Regions from separate parts of the Homo sapiens genome. Here region 1 is linked to region 2. Evidence: promoter capture Hi-C in 16 types of primary human blood cells and fetal thymus (Javierre and others, 2016). All regions are on one chromosome and are shown on one strand. Each heading gives the region's core, a stretch centred on a gene start or on the middle of the fragment in contact. The rest is flanking DNA. Distances are from core to core; before and after follow the strand shown. Region 1 overlaps CKAP5 (cytoskeleton associated protein 5). Region 2 holds the start of NUP160 (nucleoporin 160).

What was found. Contacts are between HindIII fragments. The CHiCAGO score rates a contact against its expected background, and 5 or more counts as called.
Region 1: a fragment that was not itself captured here is called in contact with the fragment with the promoter of NUP160 in region 2 in 1 of 17 cell types (fetal thymus); the score reaches 6.7 in fetal thymus.

What each region holds. Positions count from the first base shown.
Region 1 is chr11:46,823,919-46,830,686 of GRCh38, forward strand. All of the region lies in intron 1 of CKAP5 (cytoskeleton associated protein 5), which reads right to left. Among named protein-coding and RNA genes, the nearest start is that of CKAP5, 19 kb to the right of the region's middle. RefSeq lists enhancers at 2,267-2,819, 2,820-3,370. The HindIII fragment of the contact is 1,112 bases long and covers 3,040-4,151 here.
Region 2 is chr11:47,846,458-47,853,564 of GRCh38, forward strand. It overlaps NUP160 (nucleoporin 160), which reads right to left and starts at 1,893. Exons shown (of 36, transcript NM_015231.3): 1 at 1,762-1,893; 2 at 1,391-1,502. The coding sequence starts at 1,861. RefSeq lists enhancers at 1,831-2,390, 3,853-3,902, 3,933-3,982. The HindIII fragment of the contact is 7,211 bases long and covers 1-5,134 here.

The sequences.
Region 1 (6,768 bases), core at 2,346-4,845, 1.0 Mb before region 2:
TTTCAATAAATATTTGTTTATTGAATATATACTCTGGTAATATCTATTCTGAATCAGGCATGGTGCAAAGTACTTTTTAAACACGCTAATTCACTTTATACTGACATCAACTATGTGAAGGAAAGATATTCTCATTTTACACACTAGCTTCACAAATATTAAGTAACCTGCCAAAACAACAAAACTGGTAAGCAATGAAATTAAACTAAGATTCATAGTCTATGCTTCTTCCTTTACATTTTGTTCCCTCCCATGGCAAAGAAGAAAATGTCCCAGAGAAAGATGGAATTGTAAAAGTTTATTAGGATATGTGGAACTTTCATTAAGATTTTTCTTCAAAATCCCTAGGATTGCCATGAAACAGCAGCAGTGTAATTTAAAGGAGTCAGGAGAATCTGCAGGAACTCAAATACACCAATGATGGGAGACAGAATAGTTTAACAGTCTGGAAAACAGTATGGCATTATCAGATACACATGCCCTACCACCCAGCAACTCCATTCCTAGGTGTATAGCCTAGAAACTGATGCAAATTACACCAGAAGACCTATATAGGGATAGTCATAGCAATGTTGTTCATAGTAGTCAAAAGCTGGAAACAGTTCACATGTTCATCAAACTGTGCTTTTCAAACTCAGGACCAGTCTTCCCCCTACCACCCCCACCAACTGAATACTAGTATGTCTGTAAAATACAATAAAAATTATTATACCTCTGTATTTTTTAAGTTGAATGCCAAATGGTCCAGCTGCTGTGAATGCAAAATGGTCTAGCTGCTGTGTAAAACCATTTGGAAGTTTCTCAAAAAGTTAAAAGTATCATATAGGGATGAGCAGACTGATCTGGATTTTATAAACAGATATAAGAACCAAGTTTTTGCTACACAGTAGAGTTTGATGCCTAAAGAGCAAATAAAATTGCCAACAAAGAGAAGCATTAAGAAGATTAATTTGAACTATACATAATGCTTGCTGTGGTTTATTTGATCTAGTCCCTAGTAAAGACACATATTCAGAAATTTCAATTATTCAGAGCTCTCAGATTTTATCCCAGTCTAAAACTGAGGCAAAGACAAGTAGGTCAGCTAAAGTAAGTATGTTTTACAGATATATTATAATCATATACCACTGATCTAAAAATGTCTTCCTAAGAGCTCAAATACCATATAGTCCATGCTATTGCTGAAAAGGTTTAGGCATAATTGTTTATTTTTAGACTAGAGGTTAAGAAATGTTTTCAAGGTTATACATGAAGGCAGAACTTAGAATAAATTCCAAATTGTCTGATTTTTCAGTTTAGTGTTCAAATAAATAACAAATTTCCTATTAAATATGCACTATATCCCATCATAAAAGAGACCCCAAAATCTGTGCATTTTCTCATTAACCAACCATTTAAAAGGGACAGAGAGATTAAGTCATGAGTAATACTAGAGCTGGGCCTAGAACCTATGTCTCCTACTTCTCAGTCTGTCTCTCTTCCCTACAACCCATGGGCCCAAGTGTGGTGTCTTTTTAGTTTAAATTCCTGTATTTTGATAGTCTATAAGAGTAATTACAGAGCTACTGTACAGATTATTTTCTCTTCTACTTAGAGAAAAACCACTGGCAGTATGACTTTTTTATGGCAAATTCCCAAGCTCTTGACCTACAAAAGCTCTTCACTATCACAATACAAGAGATCTGAATTTGATTACCATTCCTGGACTCTCACCTCTGGCTAAGGAGATGCTATTGCAGAAGCACAGAATGATTTTAACAGAAGTTTGAGAAAAACTTCTGCTCCATCAAAAAGCAACCCATTTGAATGACCACTGAGTGTGATGATAGGCTCATAAAAAAAAAAAAAGAAATTATTTTTTTAAAAAAGCAATGCATACACATGCCCAGAAATCTACTCAAACCATGTCTAGGAAGGACAACTGGATTAAAGAAACACAACAACTATGTAACTGTCATAGAAAACTTAAGATTTTTATTATTTAACCAAAATCTGACAAAATCCCATCTCTGAGTAGCAGGTGGCAAAAATGACAACACTTTCCCTCAAATTAAAAAAAAAACTCACTGTCTCCAGGTATTTCCCATTAACAAGGACAAGTGTTATCCTCTTGCCGGAGTATTCTGCATTACCAGGCGGCCAGAAATCTGAACAGTTTTCTAGCAGATTATCTCAAACTTTGGTGTGTTTGCTTTCCTAATCTTGGGACAGTGGCGTCCCACAAATTCCTTCAGAGATGGAGAGGGGTAAAGAGCTGTCTCTTTCACATTGTGCTCTTTATATCAGGAGGAAAGGTTAACTGGACTCTTCCTAAGAGATGTTCACTGTCAACATATCCAAAAGGGGTACGGGATACCACCAACACAGGCCTCTGGAGAGACAGCTAAACCTGGCTGTGAATTAGGACAACTTGGAGTTACTGCTCGACTGTACCAAGGTAGCTGAAAACCTAATGCTTACTCATCCCAAAGCTACCAAGGTCTTCAAATACCAGGGTAAGGATCCAAGGCCCAGAGAGAGAGATTCAGCTCCACCCATTCAGCTCAAATGGGTTATACTCTGGTAAAAGCAACCCTCTCCTCACCCCAAGTAAGAACCAGGTGGGGGCAAAGCCAGGTCGTGGGCACTGCTCACCCACTGCATGCCCAAACAAGCACCCTACGGCTGCTGTCACCACCCAGAAGTAGAGCAGATACCCTGGCTTTAGCTCACTGGAGCCGGCATTGTTTACGCTCTTTCGCCGCCTTAGCCTCTGATAGGCCAGCAAAGTCCCCAGTACTGTCCACCAGGACTTGCAGCACGGTCGCGGGATGCTTGCCCTTTGCCCGTGGTTTGACACTTACGCTCCCCGGGCAGGGAGAGGTCAGGGAAGCTAAGGTCCGAGCAGGATCAGCAGGAATACCCGGCAGGCGGCGGCGGCGGCGGCAGCAGCATTGGTGCTGCGGTCCGCTGGGAAACGCCTCCTCCGAGGGCGGGGCCCGGAGCGCCACTGTCAGAGTGCCCGCCCCACCCTCAGCTCCCCTCTCCGCACACTCTGAAAGCTTAAAGGGGCCGCAGTGTATCTTCGCCCAGAGGTTTGCAGGCCTCAGGCGCTGCTTCTAGGTCCTAGGCTTTCCCAGGCAAGAGGCAAATGATGGACCAACTAGGAAGACTACTGCAGTTGGGTGGACCTCTTTTTTTGGTAGTATTACACGTAATATTCCAGAAACAAAGGAGATGACCAGTTCCCACTATCACAATCCTAATCCCTCCTCCAAGGGTGAAAAAAATTACTGCAGGTAACAGCCAAAGCATCAAGGTAGATACATAGCCCCTCATTATATGTAAGCTGCTTACTTCATTAACCTCCTTTGGACTCGAGCAGTTCTTCAAATGGCAACTCAAAGGCCTGGAAAAGATCCTACAATGCTCCACCTCACCTTTTCACGGAATTCGTTCTTTACAAAACTGGAGGAATCCTGGACAATGATACAAGATGGGCAGGAAGGTAATAGAAGGTGAAATAGAAAAATACCAGCCTGGGCAACAAAGTGAGACCCCATCTCTACAAAAAATAAAAAATTAGCTGGGCATGGTGGTACAAGACTAGTCCCAGCTACTCCGGAGGCTGAGGTGGGAGGATCCTGAGCCCAGGACTAGGCTGCAGTGAGCCAGACTGCACCACAGCACTCCACCCTGAACAACTAACCAAAACCATACCTCTATAAAAGAAAAAAAGAAAAATAACCTTCCCCATCTTGTGTGTAAAATGTGATCTTTCAAAAATTGACCTAAAAGTCAACGTAAATAAATGTACAAGTCTATGTAAGTAATCTTGCATGCCAATACAATTGTAATGTGCAATCATCTAATTTAATATGAAGAGTTCTTAAGAAAATTGTAGTAGAAACGGCATTAATATTTCAAGGAGTTAAGTCCTAGTCTCTGAGATCTCCAAAGGTTAGCAACTAGTTTTAATTTTCTTTTTGTAGGAGGAGTTTGTCCTGAATCCTAGTTTACAAGGTTTGACTGCATTTTGTGTCTCCCATCATACCAACAGGAAAGATATGTGCTTTTTTTAAGTCCATATTACTCCACCTAATTTAGATGAATCAACACACCTCCTTAAAGCCTTGGGCCATCATCAGATCAGTACAGGAATCAATGTAGTAAGCTTAAAGACCATTTGTAAGTAACCCAATTTCTCCTATCCACAACAGGAATAAAGCAGAAATTTAAGAATCCAAAGAACAGTTATGAAGATTGCTCCACCAGGGAGCAGACTCAGGTTACTCTTATTCTGAAGGTTTTAGAGAACCCTAAGCTAAAGTTGCCAAGTATCTTTTCCTTACTTGGGTGGGGGCGGGGTAGATAAATAAATAAAGTTGCCAAGTAAAAAATGGATTCAGATTAAAACAGTCTGATTTTTGAACTGCCAAGACAGTCTCATTCTACAATGCATTTAACTGTAAAGAATACCTCTGAATTAGGTAATTAAGACCTTCATTCATTATATTCCCATCAAGCTTAACTGTTCTGAGGGTAATGGTTTGCAGATCAGCCTTTCTCATCAGATTGTGAGTTCCTCAAGGGCAAGGGCTGGAATGTATCTTAATTATCTTTTTCTTCCAATGTGTGATACAAAATAAGTACCCAACAAATATTTATCACAAGAGGTATGACCAACATTTTCTGTTACATAGCATTCTAGTGACATAGGACTTCAGTTAACTGCAATAAACATAGTACAATGAGTGTATGTGTGTATGCACACACAAATGGATAATACCCTGTGCTGTGCTTATGAGCGAATTAAACATTTTAAAAATTAGAGAAAAAAATCTACTAACAGTCACAAAAAAAGTCAAATACTGTATGAACCCACTTTTATGAGGTATGCAGTCAAATTCATGAATTCATAGAACCAGAAAGTAGAATGGTAGTAACCAAAGATGGGGTGGGGGTGTGGCTTGGGAGGGGGATAAGAGAAATATTTAGATACAGAGTTTCAGATTAGCAAGATGAGAAAGTTCTGGAGATCTGTTTCATAACGATGTGAATATACTTAACACTATTGAACTGTACACTTAAAAATGGTTAAGATGGTAAATTTTATACTATTGTTTTTTACCATACACAAAAAATGAGACATTCGTCTATACAAAAATTGCTTTGCAAATATTTAAAGTAAACAAAAGATGATATGGAAGACAGAAGTAAATATATAAATACAGTTGACCCTTGAACAACATGGATTTGAACTGCACGGGTTGACTTGCATGTGAATTTTCTTCTGCCCCTGTCACCCTTAAGACAGCAAGACCAACCCCTCCTCTTCCTCAGCCTATTCGACATGAGGATGACAAGGATGAAGACCTTTATGATGATCCACTTCCATTTAATGAATAGTAAATATATTTTCTACTTACTGGGCAATAAAGTCTTACTTTACTTAAAAGACAGTCTACTTACTGTCTCTAAAAATAAATACAAAAAATTATCTGGGCCTGGTGGCACATGCCTGTTAGTCCCAGCTACTCGGGAGGCTAAGGTAGAAGGATTGCCTGAGCCCAGAAAGAGTGAGCCAAGAGGGGACCACAACACTCCACCCTGAACGATGGAGCGAGAAAAAATATTTTTCCTCCTTCTGATTTTCTTAACATTTTCTTTTCTCTAGCTTACTTTACTGTAAGAATACAATATATAATACATATACAAAATATGTGTTAAACAATTATGTTATCAATAAGGCTTCTGGTCAACAGTAGGCTATTAGTAAAGTTTTGGGGGTGTCTAAAATTATATGTGAAGTTCCCACTGCACAGGGGGATCCCTAACGTTGGCATTGCTCAAGGGTCAAATGTGCCTATGTGGAAGAAATCCATTAAGTTTTAAGAAGAAATTTGCAAGACAGTATATGAAGTCTAATTCCTTTTTTGTATGTGTGTGTGTGTGTGTGTGTGTGTGTGTGTGTGTGTGTGTGTGTATCTCACATACACATTTACATATGCATTTGTGTAGGCTGATAATGACCCCCAAAGAAATCACGTTGTAATCCCTGGGACTTGTAAATGTTACTTTATTTGGAAAAAGGGTCTTTGCAGATGTGATTAAATTAAGGATCTTGAGATGGGGGGATTACCCTGGATTGTTTGGGTGGGTAAAGGCAATCACATATATCATTATGGGCAAGACGGAGGGAGATTTGACCCAATGGAGAAAGTGATATGAAGAGGGATCAGAGAAAGATTAGAATAGAGTAGGCCGGGCACGGTGGCTCACGCCTGCAATCCCAGAACTTTGGGAGTCCAAGGCAGGCAGATCACAAGGTCAGGAGGTCGAAACCATCCTGGCTAACACGGTGAAACCCCGTCTCTACTAAAAATACAAAAAATTAGCCGGGCGTGGTGGCAGGCACCTGTAGTCCCAGCTACTCGGGAGGCTGAGGCAAGAGAATGGCATGAACCTGGGAGGCAGAGCTTGCAGTGAGCCGAGATGGCACCACCGCACTCCAGCCTGGGCAACAGAGCAAGACTCCGTCTCAAAAAAAAAAAAAAAAAAAAAAAATTAGAATAGAGTAGAGAAAGATGGCCACAGGCCTAGGAGTGCCAGCAGCCACCAGAAGCTGGAAGAGGCAAGGAACAGATTCTTTCCTAGGGGCTCTGGAGGGAGTGTGGCCCTGCTGACTGACACCCTGATGTAGGTCCATAAGACTCATTTTGGATTTCTGGCCTCCATACTGTGAGAGAATAAATCCTGTTTTTTTAAGCCACCAAGTTTGTGGTCATT
Region 2 (7,107 bases), core at 643-3,142:
AAATGGCAACCCCTCCCCACTCACATCTGGTTAGTCACATGAGACACCAGGGAGCTGTCCTTGTTCTCTCTTCTTTTACCATCCCTTACCCCATATTCAATCCACCACCAAGCCCTAGTGAATCTATCTTCCAAAGGTATCTTGAATCCATCTACTTTTCTATTTCTAGTCATTCCCACAATTGAGCCACCAGCAACCCTTACTTGGGCCATGATAAAAGCAAAATTTTTTTTGTATTATACCCATCTAATCCAAATCCACTTTCCACAAAGTAGACTGAGATCTTCTAAAAATACATTTAAAAAAATTTAGATTCAGGGGTACATGTGCAGGTTTGTTACATGAGTATATTGTGTGTATATTCCTATATACATGAGGTTTGGGCTTCTGATGATCCTGCCGCCCAAGTTGTGAACACAGTATCCGATAGGTTTTCCAACCTTTGCTCCCCTCCCTCCCTCCTTTTGGAATCCCTAGTGTTAACTGTTCCCATCCAAAAATGCAATTTTGATGTTAGTAACTCTTTAAAAATCTTTCAATTATTACTCAATGTACTTAGGATAAAATCCAAAAATCCTTAAAAATGGCCTAAGGGTCCCTCATGGTCCGAGTCCTGCCTACCTCTCCAGCCTCAGTATCTCACATCACTTTCTGTTTTACCCACTGCACTTAAGCCACACAGATCTTTGGTCAGTTCCAAACCCGCCACATTCTTTCCACTTCATGACCTTTGCATATGGTGATCCTACTTGCTGGACTCCTCTCTGTCCACTCCCCATGCCTGGCTAACCTCGTGTCCTTTAGATCTCAGGGTAACTGTGAATTCCTTAAAGCCTTTCCCTGCCCCACTAATTATATTTGGTCCTCTTATTAGCCTCTCATAACCCGTATATTTTTCCTCTAGGGCAAGTTTTCCTCCAAAAAATTTCCCCATGAAAAGTGGGTCTACATCTATTCTGACATTGCTACAACGTCTTGCATGATGAAAATTGCAGTTTTGTTCATTTCGTCCTGGTACCTAGCACAATGCCTGACATATTGAAGCTCGAACGTATTTGTACAATGAAGGAAGCTGTAAAGCACTATAAAAACATAACGGGTTCATGTTTAAAATTGGTCTTATGGGCTTTATTCCCCTAAGCTACATTTCCTCTGCTTCTGGTGTTGCTTGGTGTATGTGTGTGTGGGGGTGGGGGGGGGGAGGGGGAGAGGTATCTCTTCTAGAACTCTGTGTCTCAGTTTTCCCGATTCTGATACGAACTGAAAAAACAATCTTTCTCTTTCCCTAAGTGTCAATTACCGCTTCTAGAATAGCACTTTGGGTACAGCGACGAAAATTTATACACCAAACCCTACCTTCCAGGGGAGTTTGGCGAACCACAACACTTACCAATGAATGAACCTGTTTCTGGTTACGGAGAACAACTTGCCACTCTCCACGTAGTAAAAGCCTCCCGCGCTTTCACTGTATTTTACGGCGCCAGCCACGGCATTTGCAGTCCCTGCAAAATGAACGTGGTCAGCCTGCACACGCGTCTTCTGAGAAATGACAGGGACTAAGGGAGCTGACAAAGCAGAGAGTGACAGACTGACAACCCATACAAAGAAAAGAGGAAAACGTCGGACATCAAGGAATCTCTGATCCCGGGGCTAGAGGCATGTGGACTCAGGAGGATGAAACAGGGCGTCAGGGACCCTGGGACCCATGAGAGGAGCCCGAGGGGACAGATGGGATCGCACCCTCCCTGGCCATTTCCGTACCAATGCTGCAGACTGTGAATTCCCGAAAGTGCCTCGGCCTTTCGCGCTCAGCTCCGCTTAGCTCCACGAAGCTCCGTTCCAGGGCTCCCGCCGCCGCCATCTTCCCGCCGTCGCCGCGACGCCCAACGGAACAAAGGCAGGGCCGCGCGGTCGCCGTCACTTCCGGGGGTGGGGCGGGCGGAGCTGCGGACAGGTGAAGCATTCCGGGAGCAGAAAGGCGGCTCCGGCCCTTCGTTGCGAGGCTTCCACCGGGAGAATGAGGGTGGGCAGCGAGGAATCCAGAAGAGAAGGGGGCAGGGGAGGCAGACTCTATCTGCGGGAACCTTCCAGTGGCCGGCTGGAACGCCTCCGGAGGGCGGTGCTCTTTTCTCAGCGGCCGCAGGGCAGGGGGCGGGGCCGGGTTTGTTTCTGTTTCTAAAACGCGGGGCTCAGTCGACCAGGAGGGGCGAGGTCCGGGGAGTCCCGGCCTTTCGGCGTCCTCTGCCGGATCCCGGGTTTATGGTCACCTCTCCCTCGGTTAGGGTGTCCGTCTGTAAATCTTTGGCGATCCTCCCTTCGCTCTTCAGTGGCGACACTTGGGATGGCGGGGTGAGGAAGGGGTAGTGAGGGAAAGGCCTTTGGTTTTGGTCTTTCCCCTCCCCAAGAGACTGTATTCGTGTATTCCTGTATAATGAAACGTAATGTGGTAAACCTTGGTGCTGCCACTTGCTGAGGTTACCTGAGTGCTACTCACTTGGATACGTGAAAGGAATTTGCCATTCCTTCCACCCGTGATCTTGCACTTGGCTGTCAATGCAGTAAGGGCCCATAGTGGGTGTTTAGAAGATATTGTGGGAGTAGATGTTCAAAATCGAGGAAAATGCTAATCTCCAGCGGGGAAGGTTTTGTTCCTTAGTGATAGCCAATAGAAGTTAAAGCACTTCTATTACCAGTGACCACAACCATTCCCTGTCATTCTCCGTTTCATTTATCTGGTTCCGACCATCATTTTCTATCTTTCCACTTCACTCCCTCTGGGACACCAACTTTGGCAGTGCAGTCCCCTCATTCTACCTGGAATCCATTGTTCTACAAAATCTTCACTGTCCCACACTTCTTTGGTGTTTCTTTCTTATCCTGAATACCATTAAATTACTTCATTGCCTAACTCTTCATCGGTAAAAACTACAACTTCGACTACATTCAAATCTGTAGCTGAACATGACTGGAGAAAACTATACACCCGGGTCGGGCGTGGCTCCCAGCATTTTGGGAGGCCAAGGCGTGAGGATCACTTGAGGTCAGGAGTCCGAGACCAGCCTGGCCAACATGGTGAAACCCGGTCTCTACCAAAAATAGAAAAATTAGCCGGGCGCGGTGGCTCACGCCTGTAATCCCAGCGCTCTGGGAGGCAGAGGTGGGTGGATCACGAGGTAAGGAGTTTCAGACCAACCTGGCCAACATGGTGAAACCCTGTCTCTATTAAAGATACAAAAAATTAGCCGGGCATGGTGGTGCACGCCTGTAATCCCAGCTACTCGGGAGGCTGAGGCAGGAGAATCGCTTGAACCTGGGAGGTGGAGGTTGCAGCGAGCCAAGATCGCGCCACTGCACTCCAGCCTGGGTGACAAAGCGAGACTGTCTCAAAAAAAAAAAAAAAAAGAAGAAAGAAAAAAAGAAAAATTAGCTGGGCATGATGGTGCGCTCATGTAATCCCGGCTACTTGGGAAGCTGAGGCAGGAGAATCGCTTGAACCCGGAAGGTGGAGGTTACAGTGAGCCAAGATCTCGCCGTTGCACTCCAGCCTGGGCAACAAGAGCGAAACTCCGTCTCAAAAAAAGAAAAGAAAGAAAACAGAAAACTATACACCCATACTGACATGCCTCCCTGTAACTCCATCAGGACCATGTACCTTGAGTGGGCCCATAATGCTGCCCAGCAAACACATTGTATTTGCCTTCTCCATTTACTGTTCTAAATGAATATTTCATAACTCCTATAACCTCCATTGCCTCCTTTGTCATCCTGACTCTCAGCTTGCTTCTTCATTTAGAAAATTAAAGCAGAGGCTGAGATGGAAGGATGGCTTGAGGCCAGGAGTTCAAGACAAGCCTGGGCAACATACCCCCATCTCTAATAAAAATTTTTAAAAAACTAGCCAGGCATAGTTGTGTGCCTCTGTAGTCCCAGCTATAGGAGGTTTCTTGAGCCCAGGAGTTGGAGGATACAGTGAGCTACAATCCTGCCACTGTGCTCCAGCATGGCCAGAAAGACACCCATCTGGAAAGAAGGAAGGAGGAAGGGAGGACTTCCTCTATAATGACATCTCCCCACCTACCAGCATCTGTAACCACATATTTTGCCTTCCCTTCCTGTTACTATAAACTGTCTCTGAGCTTATGCAGAGACAACCTTTCTACTTCCTTAGAACACCTGCTCAAGGACATCATTCTAGCAATTCAATTATTTCCATTTTCAGTCTTTTCCCCTTTTCTCTTAGTACTGTATGTACTAAGCATACAAACATTCCCTCGACCTCCACTCTCTGCAGCTACTACTCCATATCTCTTCTCCTCTCACCCACAGCAAAACTCAAGAGTGTTTTAATTCCTTCTCTCTCATTCTCATATATATATATATATATATATATATATATATATATATATATATATATATATTTTATTGAGATGGAGTTTCGCTATTGTTGGCCAGGCTGGAGTGCAATGGCACAATCTCGGCTCACTGCAACCTCCGCCTCCTGGGTTCAAGAGATTCTCCTGCCTCAGCCTCCCAAGTAGCTGTGATTACAGGCATGCGCTGCCCTGCCTGGGTAATGTTTTTTGTATTTTTAGTAGAGACAGGGTTTCACCATGTTGGTCAGGCTGGTCTCGAACTCCTTACCTCAAGTGATCCACTTGCCTCGGCCTCCCAAAGTGCTGGGATTACAGGCGTGAGCCACTGCATCTGGCCTCATTAAATCCATGTTTTTCAGGCTTTTGCTTCTACTGCCTTGCTGAAACTGCTTTTTTCCGGGTTATCAATGGCATCCACATTATCTGTCTAATACTAAACTGCTATTTCTTTTTTCTGACACATAATCTTGCTCTGTTATCCAGGCTGGGGTGCAGTGATGTGATCCCAGCTCATTGCAGCCTCAAACTCCTGGGCTGAGGTGATCCTCCTGCCTCAGCCTCTCGAGTAGCTGGGGCCACAGGCTTGTGCCACCATGCCCTGCCAAATTTTTTATTTTTTATTTTTTGTAGAGACAAGGTCTTCCTATGTTGCCCAGGCTGGTCTCAAACTCCAGGCCTCAAGCGATCCTCCTACCTCTGCCTCCCAAAGTGCTGGGATTACAGGCGTGAGCCACAGCACCTGGCCTGAACTGTTATTTCTAAGCTTATTTGACTACTTGTAGAATTTGACCAATTGCTTGCTCCTTCCTCGTGGAAACACATTCTTCATGTGGCATCAAGGACGCCACTCTCTTGATTCTACCTATTTCACTAACTGTTCCTTTTCAGACTCCTTTCCTAGATGCTCCTCTTTTCCCCAACCTCTTGATGTTGGAGTGTCCAGAGTTCAGTTCTTGGTCCTTTCCATCTACAAACACTCCCCTGAGAATCTCACCCAGTCTTCTGGCTTTAAATACTGCATTGTTATATGCCGATCATCCCCAAATGTATACCTCCAGTCTAAGCTTCTCCCCCGAAGTCCAGGTTTATATATTCAACGGCCTATTTTGTATCTTAGATGTAACATGTCTGAAACTGAAGTCCTAACCTCTCTCCCCACACTTACTTTCCCCATCGCAGTTACCAGCACTGTTCCAGTTGCTCAGCCTCCTGAGTAGCTGGGATTACAGGTGCTTGCCACTACGCCTGGCTTATTTTTTTTGTATGTTTAGTAGAGATGAGGTTTCACAGTGTTAGCCAGGATGGTCTCAATCTCCTGACCTCATGATCTGCCTGCCTCGGCCTCACAAAGTGCTGGGATTACAGGTGTGAGTCACCGCGCCTGGCCACACTTCAACTGTTATTATTTACAAATTCCTGGTTATCTAAGTTATAACTGCTCATGACACTGATGTGCCACAGTAGAGAGAACTATTCCGAAGACTGATTATTTCCACTTTCATATCTAGAGGTCAGACCTCTTTTGCCGAGTTCTCAGCCTTTTATATTCAGTTGCCTCCTTGATGCCCCTTGGATTTCCCATGGACATCTCAAATTCAACATATCCAAAATGTTACCCCTCTCTATATAGTCTCACTATATACTCTCACATGTAGTCTATATCTGTGTGGACATCACCACTGTGGCCCAGTCTAGAAATCTAGTAATTACCCTGGACTTTTCTCTTTTAATCCCAACACCCAAATCTCATATATCCATATGGCAAAAGAAAGATGGCCACAAATTCTTTGACATTGTTCCCATCCAGAAGTGTAGCCTTCTTTGTCCCCTCCCCTTAAATCTGGAGGGTTCTGTAACTGCTATAAGGAATATAATACAGCAAAAGTGATGCTGTGCCAGCCTAGCTTAAGAGAGTCTACATCTCTCTTTGAAGACTGGCTATAGGGGAAGCAAGCTGCCATGTAAGAAATTTGGCTACGCCGGGGCCATCCTAGGCAGATTGCAGGGAGAGACCACACACAGAGACTCTAATTCTACTTGAAGTGAGAGATGCCTGGTAAGTCCCCAGGTCCCAGATATTTTGTAGAGCACAGATGAGTCATGACCACTGAGCCCTGTCCAAATTGCATATTAATGAGCTAAATACATGATTGCTATTTTTATTTTTATTAAATTAAATTAATTAATTAATTAATTTTGAGACAGAATCTCACTCTGTCGCCCAGGCTGGAGTGCAGTGGCTCAATCTTGGCTCACTGCAACCTCCAGCTCCTGGGTTCAAGTAGAGGTGGGGTTTTACCATGTTGGCCAGGCTGGTCTCGAACTCCTGACCTCAAGTGATCCACCCGTCTCAGCCTCCCAAAGTGCTAGGATTACAGGCATGAGCCACCGCGCCCGGCCTCAATGTACATATTTAATGTAGTAATGTTTTTTCATTTTTTTCTCAGAAAAAAATGTTAAATTGATGAGGCATGTTTCGGTTTTATAGGAATCTAGGAATTACATTTTTTGACAGTGAACACTTTTTAGCTTTAGATCACTGTCTTATCTCCAACATCCATCAGAATTCCGGGAACTTCACGTTACCTAATAAATGTTTGAGGAATAATTAAATGAATGAATAAGTGCATATATGCATTTTTGGAAAACTCAAATACCCTTTGAACTATTAATGTTCTGGGGGATGGTTATAACATAAATTGAATCATATTGCCATCTAGTGGTTAGGTAGTGA